2 separate regions of the Homo sapiens genome follow, and region 1 is linked to region 2. Evidence: promoter capture Hi-C in 16 types of primary human blood cells and fetal thymus (Javierre and others, 2016). All regions are on one chromosome and are shown on one strand. The core of a region is centred on a gene start or on the middle of the fragment in contact, and the rest is flanking DNA. Distances in the headings are between cores, read along the strand shown.

Region 1 (3,366 bases), core at 89-2,588, 280 kb before region 2:
CACCCGGCTAATTTTTTTTTTATTTTTGAGATGGAGTCTTGCTCTGCTTCCCAGGCTGGAGTGCAGTGGCACAATCTCTGCTCACTGAAAGCTCTGCCTGCCAGGTCCACGCCATTTTCCTGCCTCAGCCTCCTGAGTAGCTGGGACTACAGGCGCCTGCCACCACGCCCAGCTAATTTTTTGTATTTTTAGTAGAGACCGGTGTTCACCATGTTAGCCAGGATGGTCTTGATCTCCTGACCTGGTGATCCACCTGCCTTGGCCTCCCAAAGTGCTGGGATTACAGGCGTGAGCCACCGCACTCGGCCGTTTTTTGTTTTTTTTTTTTTTGAGACGGAGTTTTGCTCTTGTTGCCCAGGCTGGAGAGTGCAATAGTGCAATCTTGGCTCACTACAACCTCCACCTCCTGGGTTCAAGTGATTCTCCTGCCTCAGCCTCCTGAGTAGCTGGGATTACAGGCATACGCCACCACGCCTGGCTAATTTTTTTGTATTTTTAGTAGCGACAGGGTTTCTCCATATTGGCCAGTCTGGTCTCGAACTCCTGACCTCAGGTGATCCTCCCACCTTGGCCTCCCAAAGTGCTGGGATTACAGGTGTGAGCCACCGCGTCCGGCTAATTTTTGTTTTTAGTAGAGATAAGGTTTCACCATGATGGCCAGGCTGGTCTCAAACTCCTGACCTCAAGCGATCCACCCATCTAGGCCTCCCAAAGTGCTAGGATACAGGTGTGAGCCACCGTGCCCAGCTAATATTTCTATTTTTCAAAATGTTTACCAGGCGCAGTGGCTCACGCCTGTAATTCCAGCACTTTGGGAGGCCAAGGTGGGTGGATCATATGAGCCCACGAGTTAGAGACCAGCCTGGGCAACATGGCAAAAAAAAAAAAAAAAAAAAAGTTAAAAAATTACCCATAATTCCAGTTACTTGGGAGACTGAAGCAGGAGGATTGCCACAGCGCCTGGCCAATATGTGTTTAAGTCTGCTTCTTGCCAAGCTTTCTGTGTTATTCTGATGCCCACTCGTTTCAGAACCACTGTTTTTCACTCTTGGCTGCACATAGAATTACCTGTGGAGTTTTTAACTATCTCTATGCCCAGACAACTTAAACTAAAATCTATGGTGAGTAGCTTATGTACTTTGGGACGATGAAGTAGGAGGATTGCTTGAGGCCAGAAATTAGAGTCGCCCAGGCTAGGGTGCAATGGTGCGATCTCGGCTCACTGCAACCTCCACCTCCCGGGTTCAAGAAATTCTCCTGCCTCAGCCTCCTAAAGTAGCTGGGATTACAGGCGCCCACCACCATGCCCAGCTAATTTTTTGTATTTTTAGTAGAGACAGGGTTTTGCAATGTTGGCCAGGTTGGTCTCGAACTCCTGACCTCAGGTGATCCACCTGCCTCAGTCTCCCAAAGTGCTGGGGTTACAGGTGTGATCCACTGCACCTGGCCGATCATCTCTTAAAAAAAAAAATCTATGGGGATGAGACTCAGTCATCAATTTTCTTTTGTTTTTTGTTTTAAGCCTCAAGGAATTTCTGTGTGCAGCCAATGTTGCCTCTCAGTGGTTTAGGTTCCAAAAACAGCATTTCATTATCTTATCCAAAGTGAGTCTCTTTCTTTTCTGGGTGACCTTATCTTGGAGCTCTGACCTGCCTGCAATTCTTGGTTATCCAAAGCTTCTGGGATGTTGGAGGGAATCCTCTGCATTTTAGAATGCAATCACCATGATTGGATGAATGGCTGATTGGATTAAGGGTTGCCTGGATTTGCTGTTCTGAAGCTAGTATAGCCCCTTCTTTTCTTGGCCACCTAACACCTGACCCCGCTCATACACCCCTGCATTGAGAGAATGTCATATTTTTTAAGGCTAAGCCTGCCTTTCCATAGAAGTTATAATTGACAGTTACTTTCCCAGCCTGCCCTGCAGCCAGGCTGCACAAGGCTCAGGTTCTGCCATTCACAATTTGGATCAAAAGCCAGTGGTGGTGGCCGGGCACAGTGGCTCACACTTGTAATCCCAGCACTTTGGGAGGCTGAGGCGGGCGGATCACCTGAGGTCGGGAGTTTGAGACCAGCCTGGCCAACATGGAGAAACCCCATCTCTACTAAAAATACAAAATTAGCCGGGCATGGTGGCATATACCTATAATCCCAGATACTAAGGAGGCTGAGGAAGGAGAATTGGTTGAACCTGGGAGATGGAGGTTGTGGTGATCCGAGATCGTGCCATTGCACTCCAGCCTGGGCAAGAAGAGTGAAACTCCGTCTCAAAAAAAAAAAAAAAAAGAAAAAGAAAAAGAAAAAAGCCAATGATAAGGAGAAACAGGCCCTTGGGCTCGAAAACACTAGGGACAGGAGTTGGAGGCAGCTACATCCATGTCACAGAGATTCATGAAAATAAGAACAGTTTATGTCAAAACTGAAGCTACACTCAGGAAGTTTATAGGTGGTTGCACATCTGGTCTCCAGCCACAGTAATCCTTGTAGCATCAACTACAGTCTCTGTACTTAGTCATTGTGAGATTGGGCTATGTGTGGGGTTGGCGTTGGGGTACCACCACTAGCTGTGTAGCCCCTGATGCTGGTTCTCTGCCCCTCCTGGAGATCACTGTGCCACCTGACATTCTTCATTACACACTTTTCAAGCATAGACAAACGGACAGAGAATTGCATAGTTATCACCTTGTAACCAATGACCCAGCTTCAACAATTATCAAAAGAGGCTTAATCCACCCACTTAAACAAATATATTCTAGTCCGGATGCAGTGGCTCACGCCTGTAATTCCAGCACCTTGGGAGGCTGAGGCAGGTAGATCGCTTGAGCCCAGGAGTTGGAGACCAGCCTGGGCAACACGGCGAAAACCTCTGCTGTACTAAAAATACAAAAATTATACGGGCGCAGTGCTGCACACCTGTAGTCCCAGCTACTCGGGAGGCTGAGGCAGGAGGATAGCTTGAGCCCGGGAGGTGGAAGCTGCAGTGAGCTATGATCGCACCACTGCACTCCAGCCTGGGCAACAGAGCAAGATCCTGTCTCGAAAAAACTAAAAATAAAATTATATACATACATACATATAGAGAGAGGTCAATGTGTTCAGTAGGACAGGATAGTCAGGGCTGGGCTCACTGAGACGGTGGGATTTGAGCCTGAAAGGAGGATGGAGGAGTCATGCGGAATCGGAGAGAGCACTCCAGGCCTCGTGAACAGTTAAGAGCAAAGGCCTGGAGGTGGGAATGTGTCTGGATTGTCTGTTGTGAGCGCGGAGGTCAGTGTGGCTGGAGGTGAGCGGATGAGGGTGTGGAGGTGACGGCATGAAATCGCGGGAAGCCTTGGGCTTTCCTCTGAGCTGGATGGGACGGTAGGG
Region 2 (3,420 bases), core at 878-3,377:
TGGCCTGGAGGGCTGCAATGACTGCTGAAGACCCCCAAAGAGACTTAGGAAGAGTAGGGCTACATCTTAGAGAGGCCTCACTCAGGAGCTCCAGGGATAAGGAGCCCAAATCTGACCGTCTTGGTGATATCCCCAGCAGTGGGGCATCCAGGTAGAGCACACGGGCAAAGCTGTCAGTTGCACACATCGCTGGAGCACAAGCAATCAGACCCTGGAGCACCATCAGAGGAGGAACAATAACTAAGAACACCAGGTGGTTAGAGGACACCAGTTCTTAGGATACACCAGGCAGAGGGAACACAGACCACATGTCAGAGCACCGACGCTCAGACGTGAGCACCTGGTGAAGACTAACACACAGCCACTGTGTTTCAATCACAGTGTCCAAGGAGCACAGACTGTTCCACGAACTCAATCACATTGTTCCCCAAGTGTAAACACCCCAGTGCCACAATCACTGCATGCCAGAAATGACACTGTCACAATCACATTGTCCCTAGACCACCAACACCATTGCACAATCACTGTCCTAGGAGCAGAAACAGTCACTCTATCCCAATCACTGCATCCCATGAGGCCACAGTCACCCTGTGACAGTCACAGCATTCTTGGAGCACACACAGTCACTGTCGCAAACCCTGTCCCAGAAACACACAGTCACACTACCCTGGAAATACACAGTCACACTGTCACAATTACACTGTCCCTGGAGGACACAGAGTCATCGTGTCACCATCACAAGACCCCAGAAGCTCACACAGAGCACACAACTGAGGTAGCCACAGCTGGTCATACCCGGACAGCTGGAGCAAACGGAGGTCAATCGGAGAATACCCTCAGAGGAGACCAAGCTCAACACACATGCACCCTCACTATGCTGTCACCTCTGCAGTCAGGGACTCCTTCCCTCTGTGCTGGGACTGCGCCCCCCCTCCACTGTTTCCTGCCTCTGAACAGCTACTTAACGCTAACACTCTTGCCCTGAGAGGGGAACTCCAATCTAACGCAAGGCTCCCAAAACAGTGCTCCCCCAAGAGGCACCCTCTGGATTTCTGACCCCAGCTGCTGCAGGAGGAGTCCACTAACATCCCCGCAATAGAGTCCTCCATCCCCTAGAAGGACCCTGAGAGCACCCCACCCTGAAGTAAAGATCCTGGTCCTAGCAGGCACCCCCTTATGGAGTGCTCCAAGAGTACCCCAAACACTGCGAATCTAGCCCTCAGTATAGTGCCCCCAGGAAGGTCCCTCCAAGTGGTTCCCAGCTTAGCAGCTGTTCTGCACTGTCACCAAGAATACAGACCCCTAAGTGTGCAGCCCCCTTCCCCAACCCAGACCTCGTTAACACCACGCGCAGCGTGGCGCCCCCTAAATGGACCCCAGGATGGGCTTCAGCAGGAAGCCTCCCGTAGAGCGCACAACCAGGGGCCAGGTCCCAGACGCCCCCGCAGCCGAATTCCCTCCGCCCCCGCCAGCCAAACCGACCCCACCCGCATCCTAGCGCCCCCTGCGGCCGGCAGCTCGAGTTGCCTCCTCCCTGCGCGCCCATCCGTTCCGCGCGCATCCGCCGCGGGGAGTCTTACCGCCTGCTGCTGCCTCCGCCCGCGCCGCCGCTGCCGGTGCCAGTGCCATGGAAGGACGAGGGCCAGGACATGCGGGTCGTGCGCAGGCCGGGCCGGTCGCTGGTGTCCATGGCATCGGCGCGCTCTATGGGCCGGTGCGGCTGCCGCTCCCGCTCGGCGCGCTCCGCGCTGTCGGAGTAGCCGCGCTGCTGGATACGGATGGGGGTCCGAGGCTGCCGCCACAGGTGCTGCGGGGGAGGCTTCAGGGTGGCCTGGCCCTCCCGGGGCCCGGGCAGTGACAGAGACAGGCTCCTTTCCGAGGGGACGGTCGGGGGTTCCATGGCGCCGGCCCCCACTTGCGCCCCAGGGGGCCCTGGCCCTTCCAACCTACACCCCGCTCAGCTGCGCGCAAGCCAGCGAGCCCAGGGCCCCGCGGGTGCGCCCGGCCGCGGTAGGGCCATGGCGCCCCGGGGACAGACCCGGGGGCGCTGCGGGCCAATCGCCCCCGGGCCGGGCTCTGCAGCTTCCTTTCGGCGCCTGGAGCTCTGCTCAGTGCCCGGCGGCGCTCTCCGCGCTCCGCGCTCCGCGTTCCGCGGCCCGCTCGGCGCCAGCCCCGGCTCCTCCGCCCCGTCCCGCCCCTCCCCGCCCCCCGCCCGCCGCGGCTGTCAGCGCCGCCCCCCTCCTCCTCCGTCCGGGCCAGCGGGGGGCAGCTACCTAAGGAGGGGGGCCCTTCCCGCCCACGCAGATCCCCGCTCCGGGCTGGGAGGGGGCGCTGGAACTCGTCTGTCTTCAAAGCACCCTGCTTGGCCGCGGCGCGCACAGGCACGAAGGAGTTAAACGGTTAATCCGATCTGGAAGCAGACACCGGACTGGTTGCCAGAGTGTCAGTCAGTCGGTCCATCATGGCGAGGGCGGAGTCCGGTGTTGGCGTGTCCTCGCCGCTACCCCTGGCGGGGGGCAGTTTTTGAGGAGTGGTCCTAGTGCCACCGGCGCGGTACCTGCAGCGGGCGGCGGCAGAGTGTGTGGGATCTCCTGTCTGTGCGTCGGAGGATAGTGATGGTGCGGGCCCGGGGCGGGATGTGCGCGCACGTGGCCTCTTCCGAGGGTTGTCTGTGTTTTCAGTGTCGGCTGGAAGTGTGTGTGCGCACGTGGTTGGCTGCTGTTGTCTGCCCGTTTCTCTGGATTTGGCTGTGTGTATAACTGTGTGTGTCTGTGGGTGAAGGATGTGTGCGCACATGTGCTACCTATTTGGAGGATGTGCATCCCTACGTGGTCTTTTTTCAGGTGGCCTGGGGACTGTGAATGTGTTCTCAAGCGCTTGGATGCGTTTGTGGTCGGTGTGTGCTTGCGGAGTTGTGCACGCGATTCGGCCTCTGTCGTCTGACTGTAGTGTCGGAGGACGTCTATGTATGTTAGTGTGTGCGTGTGCGTGAGTGTATGTGTGTGGTCGGCCTGGGGCCTCTGGGGTGTTTCTGGGGTGTGTCCCATTGGTTCCCTTGTGGCTCCAGGAAGACACCCTGTGGCGGATACCGCAGCTGCCGGCCCACCGCTCTATACATCGCTGCCTCTTCTAAAGCGCTTCTGCCAGAGGTAAACTGAGGAAGGTCCCAGGTAGCCGCGGAGCGCACCCCCGTGCCCTTTTCAGGCGAGTAAACAGGCGAGCCTCCTCCCTGCGGCCCCCGCCAGCAGAGCCCCCCTTCCGGCACCTAAATCGGGAGTCGCCGTGACTCACGCTCCCGCCTCCCCCAGCGCCGCGCCGAGCGAGCAAGCAGAGAGCGAGCGGGATCCGAGTGCGCCCCCATCCCCCTCAACCCCCCCAAGGATGGCTGCTGGGCGGGGGGAGTGCACGCGCCCGCGTGTC

Evidence for each region. The method cuts DNA at HindIII sites, captures the fragments that hold promoters and counts their contacts. A CHiCAGO score of 5 or more calls a contact.
Region 1: a fragment that was not itself captured here is called in contact with the fragment with the promoter of PDE4A in region 2 in 11 of 17 cell types (total B cells, erythroblasts, M0 macrophages and 8 more); the score reaches 7.5 in total B cells.

Annotation. Positions count from the first base shown.
Region 1 is chr19:10,696,149-10,699,514 of GRCh38, reverse strand. No RefSeq gene overlaps it. Among named protein-coding and RNA genes, the nearest start is that of QTRT1, 3.6 kb to the left of the region's middle. The HindIII fragment of the contact is 680 bases long and covers 999-1,678 here.
Region 2 is chr19:10,419,245-10,422,664 of GRCh38, reverse strand. PDE4A (phosphodiesterase 4A) reads right to left here and starts at 2,127. Exons shown (of 15, transcript NM_001111307.2): 1 at 1,581-2,127. The coding sequence starts at 1,900. RefSeq lists enhancers at 1,085-1,274, 2,455-3,334 and silencers at 1,485-1,534, 1,765-2,234. The HindIII fragment of the contact is 23,098 bases long and covers 1-3,420 here.